Linked DNA regions of Homo sapiens: region 1 is linked to region 2. The links are contacts of gene promoters, found by promoter capture Hi-C in blood cells and fetal thymus (Javierre and others, 2016). All regions are on one chromosome and are shown on one strand. The core of a region is centred on a gene start or on the middle of the fragment in contact, and the rest is flanking DNA. Distances in the headings are between cores, read along the strand shown.

Region 1 (4,227 bases), core at 749-3,248, 2.1 Mb before region 2:
GATGTACAACGGGAAGGGTAAGGCAGGGATTTGCAGCGGAGCGCGCGTCTCCTGGAATTTCAGTAGGTAAGGCTTATTCTAATTGCACCCAGTGTTACCCAATATTACCAGGAATGCAGAAAGCAAGAAAAAAATCCGAACGTCAAAGGATGCGCTTTGCTTTAGAAATGCAGGGAGGCAGAAGTTGGGTTATTTCTCCCTCCTTTTTTTTTCTTTTTTTTTTAAAGATGGAATTCCTGGAATTAACCCTTGGGTGGAAGCATTTCAACAAAATAAAATGAGATTTGCCTGCAAAGCGAGAACGCACGGGTGGGAATGAAGGATCCTGCCTGTGCCAGGCTGCTGCCTCAGCAGTGTCCAAGCACCCAGCGCCTGAAAGCGGGAGCGTGGGGACTCGTCTGGGGACCCTCTTCCGGGGCTACTGGCGGGAGGCGCAGCCGAGCTGGTGGTGGCGGGGTTTCCCTCCGGGGCTAGGGCTGAGGGAGGAGAAGAGGGCGGACTGGCTCCTTCCGTTCTCGGCCACCCTCCCCGCCACTCCTTGAGGCTGCTCCATGCTAACAGGAGACTGTTTCTCGGAGCGCAGCGCAAAGACAGTGGATTTGGAGTGGCCTCCCTAGAATCCCCCCAAAAGCATCTTGGCACAAGTTGTAGATAAAAATAGCTCATGATAACATTGTGGGAAAGGGAGGAGCGAGACTCGCGCAAGGCGAGGCAAGGGTACCACTGGATCTGCAAAGGAGGAGGAAGAGGGAGGATGCAACCCTTGGCCCAAGAGAGCGCCCTGAGTGTGCGAGGAATCGCTGGCTCCCAGGGGAGGGAAAGAGATGGAAGACCTATAGCGCCTATAACTGCAGAGTTATAGACCTATAACTGCAGAGCCCAGCACACCCCATCCCGCGCCGGCACCCGGCTTTGGCTCCAGCTTCTTCTTCCCATCATCCGCCTACGTTCTGGGTCTGTCCTCCGCTTCCTGGGACAGGCTGGGGCTAGAAGGAGGAGCAGCGCGCCGTCCGCCCCCTGGCTGGTAGAGCGCACCTGGAGAGGTCAAGCTCCGCGAATAAGACCCTTCCTGGGAGCTGGGGTCTAGGCGTTCCAACCGCGGGTTCGCACCCCGCCATCCCTCACCTCCATCCGCTGCCACTACCCAAGGGCCCGGAAATAGAAAACCACGAAGGGGGAAAAAAATCAGTAAAAAGTAACAAGAAAAAAATCAAGACCCTCATGTAATTGGCATTAGGGATGAGAGGTTTATTGTCAGGGCTGTCACCTCAATCTCTCTCTTTGGGAGATGCCTATCTCCAACCAAATGCAAAGGCAAACCCGACCAAGGCTTCTCCACCCCCAAAGGCTCCCTCAGCCGAGTTACTTTTGCGGGCTGTGTCCTCGCCCCAGTTTCTGGCCCCAGGTGGTACCCAGGATCCGTTGAGTGCTGCGCTCTCGCTGCCCTACAGGGTCCTATGGTGAAGCTGCGGTCGCGAAGCGGCCGGCAGGAGCGAACCTCACGACTCTGCAGGGGGGGAAAACATCCAACCCAGTAAGAGTCAGAAATCTGGGTCCCTGTCCTTACAGATCAACCGGTCCCTCGGGACTTCCAGAGCAGAGGTGCTAGGGCAGGAGGTGAGGAGGATGGGAAAATCCCCAGCCTTTGCTTCCTGGTTCCCTCTGCATCCACTCCACCTGCTCCAGCCTCGATTCTTCTTAGGTTCTGCACTTGCCCGAAGTCCAGAACGCCAGACAAAGGCACCTCGGAGCCCTCTACACCTGCGTCCTGCCACTCTCCCACCCCGCGCGCGCCGCACTCACCTGAGCCGCGCCTCTGTCCAGCCCGTCCGGCGCCCTAAATAGGCTCCTAGGCTGGGCCATGGGCAGCACTGCCGAGCACCCGCGGCGGGTAGAGCAAGTTTCTGGATGGCCCGGGGCAGGCGGGCGGGGAGAAGGCGCAGGCACCCACTGAGACCCGGCTGTCGTGGCGGCGACTCCTGGCTGCCAGGGCGCAGAGGACCTTGCAGGCGGGCGTTTTGGTGCTCAATCCCGAGGAGGGGGAGGAGCGGGAGGAGGAGCGGGAGCAAAAGGAGGGGACGGAGGAGGCCGGGCCCGGAGGGAGAGCGCGTTGGGCAGAGGAGGATCGCGAGCGCCCACTGCTGCCCGGCCCGCTCGGGTGCCGCCCAGAGTCCGGCCCGCTAGGTGCCTGGTGCTCCGCTCTGCGCTCAGCTGCTCCGCACAGCCCCGCCTGGCACGCAGCTCCAGCGGCTGGTCGGGTAGTAGTCGGTCCCGCCCACCCGGTGCGGTGGCCCCTGGGGTTTCAGTCCAAGGGGAGGGACCAGCGCTCCAAGAAGGTGAGGCTGCTGGGATGGGTGACTCCGCCGTCACTGCAAACACGGGACGTCCCGTCTACTCCCTTACGCCTGCTTGGTCTGAGCCCGAGTCTACCTCTTCTCTAAGTCGCCAGCTCGGCACTTGTACCCGGGACCTGTGCTCCTCCCACGTGAGTCTGCACCATGCGTATTCCCTTCCTGGCAGGTGACCCACCTTAGGCGCTGGCGCTCCTTCCGCCCCCCGGGAAGCAGGAGGTGCCATCCTCTCCAATTCGCTCTGCAGCCGGACTGGGACCGGAGCGGCGGCCTGGGCCAGAATCCGCGTGAGGAGCCGGCTTCAAAGAGCGCCCTGTCGCCATTGAACACTCCTTTTCCTTTGGTTTAGCGTCGGAGAGCGGACGCCAATTTGCCAGGAGAGCGCGGAAAATTCAGCTTTTTTTTTTTTTTTTTTTTTTTTTTTTTTCCGCTAGTGCACTAGGATTGCAAACGTCAGCTCTGAAATAAAAAGCAGGATATTTCTGCCCCGCTCCTCTATTCCGGAAGCTGGGAGGTTCTGTGGGAGAAAGGACCTGCACCCAATAACTCAATTTAAGATTTAAGGTTTTGAGGGGCGTGGGGTTGGAATCGCCTTGGAGAAACGGGTTTGCCTGCTTACCTGAGCCAAAGGAAGTTGCCCTCAAAGGCAGGTCAGCAATCATACCCCGCCAAAAGCAAATGCACATCAAAGTAACTTCCTTTAAATGAGATTACTGTAGTTTCCATGTCTTCCACATTAGTAAATAAATATTTGGAAGACTTCGAATTTGTGATTTACGTTTAAATATATTTCACCAACATTGTTTAATTAAAAAAAAATCCCATCTAAGAGAAGGTTCCTATAGGAAATTGGCCCTTTAACTCATACACAGATTACCCTCGGCACTTTCAGAAAACAACACAGTGACCAGTATATTCTGTCTTTTTGATACAGCCAGAAGCACCCTGAAAGCTGAGACCTAACTGTGCTTTTGGAAAATAAGCTTTTAGGAGTTGAATGACCTTGTCTACTTCTTTTAGTCAGAATAATGTTGGCATGTCTATTTTAGGTTAAAAAAAAATACAAATTCTAAAAAGTGACTTTAAAGGCCCACTTTGAAAGCCTTAGCATTTAAACTAACATTAGATTTAAAAGAAGGGCTTTTCTCCCCCATTATAGGAAGCTGTGTAAAATCATGTGTGAGGTTGTGAGGGTCAAATGGAAGTCTAAGATAAAGTTCTGCCAATTACTGGTGTCTTTAAGCTTCCACCAGCAGCCAAGCACAGTGCAGATCATGAGTCCTTCAAAATACGGGGTGGTTTTAATGCTCTAAGTTGGTATGATTACTTTTTCTAAAGAGCTCAAAGTGCTTTGGTGCCATAGTATGAATTTCATTACCCATTGTGAGACACAAAGGGGGTTAGCAATGATTCTGTTTGCACCCTGGAAGCCAAAGGCAGGTTACTCACCCACTTAGTTCCCTACCACAAGACCTTGAAAGAAACTGGAACCCCAGGTCTCCAGCCCAGAGATTTTGTTGGAAGTTTCCATTTGCAGGAAATGACTGCAGGGCACATGTGGGAAGTGACAGGAATTTGAGGACTAACATTTTAGTTTTCCTCATTTCTTTTTAAATCTGAGCAATTGTTCATTGATCGATAATCTATGTTCTTACATTCAGATAAATAAAAACACCAACTGGCTATTTTGTTCTTACTTAGTTTTATGTGTATGTCCAGGCATTTGCCACTGCTCCTAAATAGCTCTCCCTGAAGTCTTCTGGTCATGAGTTAGGTTTCTTATCCAGAAGCTCATGTAGTGCCAGAGCTTAGCTCTCCTATGACAACACAATCACATTATTGAAACATCTATTTAGGGATCTGTCTTCTCTAATAG
Region 2 (3,993 bases), core at 874-3,373:
GCTTGGGCGCCGCCGGCTCCTCCTCCTCCTCCGCGACGCCTGCCGGCCCGCTGCCGCCCCCGCCGCCGGCCCCGCTGCACAGCGCGGACACGTGTGCACCTCTGGGGCCAACACCGTCGTCCTCGGTCCTTGGGCTGCGGTCGCCTGCGGACCCCGGTGGGAACAGAAACAAGAGACTGTCAGCGCCACAGACGAGGTGAGGCCGGGCCTCAACTGCAGGGGTCACGGGAGTGGGGCGGAAATACACTTTGATCCCACTCAAGCGGAGCGGAGGTCTGGGAGGCCCTGGGCCCGGGAGACCAGTCTTAGACTCTTGCCCCACTGGGTATCCCATCTAGGCCTCTTCTGGGGAGGGCGGCAGACTCAGCCGCTGTGTCAACGCTGTGTTGTCGAGACCAGCTCCCCACCCTCTCTGGGCCCCAGGCTCCCCTCAGTAACTTGGGGCACTCGACCCGAGCATCCGCGAAAGCCCTCCCGGCTCTCAGCGTTGAGCATTGGGATTCTAGACTGCATTTCCGTCTCTCTGCTTGGGTTCACGCGCCTCTCCACACTTAGTTCACACGCACACACGCGCGCGTCCTCGCAGCACACACTTGTCTGGTGCAGGTAAGGGAAGGTGGAGGCGGATCCTGGGGCCAAAGGTATTTAGAATCTTTCACCCTCAGCCGCCTGGGATTGCTGTGAGAGACATGGAAACAGGCTGAGCCGAGGCCTTAGATGAGAGGATGGACTGGAGAGTAAAGAGGGAGGGTTGCCCCTGCATCGAGTTTTTGGACCCTGATCCCACACCAGCTTCTCGGTCTCGTACCCGCCCTTCCGAAGAACTCCAGCAGAAAGGTCCAGCGGTCCCCTGTGCTTGAGGCCTACAGAAGCTTGTACCCAACTAGGGCAGGCACCCGGGTCTTCCAGACCACAGGACAGGACAGGCCACGGCTGAGGAGGCCTCTCTCCTGCCTCCAGGATGAACTAAAGACCCAATCCGGGATCTTCGGCCTAGGGCTGCTCTCCCAGACCTGGGGTCTGAGAAAGCCAAACCAGCCCTTTCCCCAAAGCTCTAGTTCTGCAGATTCTCAGCTCTGGCCCACTCGGAGGTGTTCTTCACCACCTATCCACCTACTGTGGGGCCCGGCCCTGGGACCTTGAACTGGCAGGTCTCTGGTCCAGAGCTAGGTCACTGGCTACCTGAGGTCTCTGAACCCCTCACTTTTCCGCTTCCCTGATTTTGGGGATTTGGGGACAGACACGGCAGAAAGCACTGGCGACGAACTCAAAAACTCCCGAACGCAAGGGGCAGCGGTTCTCCCAACCCAGTCTAATGCACATTGGCCCAGGATGTCTCAGGCCTCACCCCAGGACGTAGGGCTCTGAGGAGCTACTCCGGTCTCTCGCGGGCTCAGTTCCCGAAGTGATAGAGCAGCTCGCGCCAGAGCGCAGAACTTCGGGATTTGGCCAGCCTCCGAGCCCCAGGGCGCAGGGTGCTCAAGCCGACCACCCCACTCGGCGTGGTTGCCCTCCGCGTCCATCCCCTCAGCCCGGCCCCCATCCCCGCGAAGCCGCAGCAGACCTGAGACGCTGGCGGACATCTCGCTGTCGCTCCGGCCCGCGGCTTCCTCCTCTAGGTCTTTGGAAGCGGCCAGCTCACAGACCGGCTGGCCGAGGCTCAAGGATCCCCCCGCAAGGCCGGCCCCGCTGGCCCCCCGCGCGTCCGCGCAGCGCCGCCTGCTCTCGTTCTCCTCGCTGAGCGCGGAGTCCGAGTCCCAGCCTTCCGGGCTCTCCGCAGTCCGCCCCGCAGCTGTTCTGGTACCGGCAGGAGACGCCAGCAGAGAGTCCTCGGCGCCCCCCAACGCGCCCGCGTCCCTCTCCCCAAAGAGCCGCCAACAGCAGACAGCGGGAGCCGCGGCCACCGATGCCGCTGTGCCCCCGGGCGCCGGGCGCCCCTCTGGCGCGGCCAGCCCGCCGCGCTCCTCTTTCTTGTTGAGGATCGCCTGGATGGAGAAGGACGTCAAGGTGTTGGCGCCGCGCACAGCCATCTGCGCCGCGGGCAGGAGCGGCCGGCGGGGCGGGCAGCTGGGGCGCCGAGCAGCTCCGAGCGGGACAGAGAGCGCCGGCGGCCGCAGCGCGAGTGAGCTGGGTGTGCGAGGCCGCCGCCGCCCACTGCTGCGCGGCCCAGCAGCTCCCGCCCCACTCCGTCCCAGGATCAGCGCCGACCCTCGCCCCCACCTTAGAGGCCCACCCCGCCCGGAGACCCCCTCCCCCCGAATCCAGAGCCAGACGCTCTCCTTTCGCAGCTCAGCTGGATTATCTCATCGCTTCTCGCCCTTAGGGGCGGGCTGGGGTCTGCCCCCTCGGGGGACGTGAAGGAGGATTGGCGGGGGCCCCTCCGTGGCAGCAGTCCCCTCCCGAGCGCCGCCGGGGCGCACAGCCCGAGTCACTTTTTCTTTGCGCGTCTGTCCCTTCCTCGCCTGCAGGATTTCGCTCCTGGCCCGTCCTCCCCTTCCCTGCTGGGCAGGCTCTTCCGGAGCCCACCCCCGGCGGCGGCGGCGGTAGCCGCGGCCGCGGCCGCTGGATTCCGAGAGGCGCGGGGAACTTTTTTACCCCCTGCCCTGGTTTTATCTGTTTCTTTTCTCTTTCCTTCCCTTGCGTTCCACTGTACCACCCCCCTCCCGCCCGGGTGTCATTCCTCACTGCTGAGTGACAGCCTGAGGCCACACCCCTCCACTGGGCTGTCCCGGGCGCTCCCGGCCGTCCATTGGCTGGCTCCAGTTGGGCGACGTTGACTTTAACAGACAAAACTGGGCACGTTGCGCCGCTAAAGACAGGGTCTGACTTAACCCCTTCTCTCCTAAGCCTGGTCCTCGAAGCACCCTCCAGCAACAAGGAGGCTCATCCGACCCAAACCACGTTTCTTACCTCTGCAGATGTATCCACTTATTCCAGCGCTTTAACAGAACACTGATACTAAGTTGAGTCAAATCTGCGGAGAAAATCCAAGATAATGCAGTTCCATAAATCATGCTCGTAGTTTCTGTTCTCTAGGAAGGATTATAAACACGAAGAACAAAATGCATCCTTTTTTTTCTCCCTACAGTTTCGCCGCTTCTTCATTGCTAATGCTCTTTGCTGAAATGATCAGTTAATTAAGATCACTCTAGAAATATTTTTCTTTCCTCGTCGTCTTTGATTTGATTCGATTTTTATAGAGGAATTATAAAAAAATGGTATAGTTAGAACTAAAGTCAGGAGAAGAATTGAAAGGCATCTTTGGGAGAATTTCTGTAAATTTTATGGTCGTTTCCCTGGCAGACCAATATTGAATTTAATTGGAGTTTGTTAAGTTTTGCATCAGGAAGAAAAAAAAAACTTTCAATTTGTTTTTTTTAAATATCTCTTACTTGTGAGTTGAATAAAATTATAAATAGATATGTTTGTTTGCTTAGAAGTATACCTAGGAATTACCATAAAGTGATCCAGAAGTGACAACACTTTTTGCTCTTTAAAAAATAAGAAATGCATTGTATTATGTAATAGTAGGAACCAAGCTAAGAAACACAAATATTGTGGGTATATAAAAACATTTTAAAATGTGTTATTCCTTTTTTAATATAAAATTTGCTCAATTAACGTACTTCACTGTTTTCCATAAACTTTACCAGAGAGTTAACACCAAATACACAAACTTGAACCATTAAATACATTTAAAGGACTATGATTTTAATTTATTAAATTGCTAGGATTGGTAGTTTTGGTGTCATTAAAATAAATAACATCTCCCCTTGTTGCTTTCTTTTTGGTTGTTCTTTTTCTGCACCGCAGAAGGAAATACACTGACTATTCATAGTTCTCAGTCTCAGAATGAGGTTTTGCAGCATCTATACTTTTCAGCATTTCGGTTACATGATGCTTTCTTGCTTTGTGCAAACCTTGTAGGGTACCTGGGAAAAAACATCCACTTGAGGTCATTGCCCTTTACAGCTCTTTACAATTACATCAGTT

What was found. The method cuts DNA at HindIII sites, captures the fragments that hold promoters and counts their contacts. A CHiCAGO score of 5 or more calls a contact.
Region 1: the fragment with the promoter of HS3ST1 here is called in contact with the fragment with the promoter of NKX3-2 in region 2 in 3 of 17 cell types (neutrophils, naive CD8 T cells and total CD4 T cells); the score reaches 6.8 in neutrophils.

What each region holds. Positions count from the first base shown.
Region 1 is chr4:11,426,896-11,431,122 of GRCh38, forward strand. It overlaps HS3ST1 (heparan sulfate-glucosamine 3-sulfotransferase 1), which reads right to left and starts at 1,999. Exons shown (of 2, transcript NM_005114.4): 1 at 1,804-1,999. RefSeq lists an enhancer at 1,655-1,874 and a silencer at 1,965-2,144. The HindIII fragment of the contact is 3,893 bases long and covers 1-3,332 here.
Region 2 is chr4:13,542,385-13,546,377 of GRCh38, forward strand. It overlaps NKX3-2 (NK3 homeobox 2), which reads right to left and starts at 2,124. Exons shown (of 2, transcript NM_001189.4): 1 at 1,565-2,124; 2 at 1-144. The coding sequence starts at 2,030. It overlaps LINC01096 (long intergenic non-protein coding RNA 1096), which reads right to left. Exons shown (of 1, transcript NR_015450.1): 1 at 3,692-3,993. RefSeq lists a silencer at 1-49. The HindIII fragment of the contact is 11,352 bases long and covers 871-3,993 here.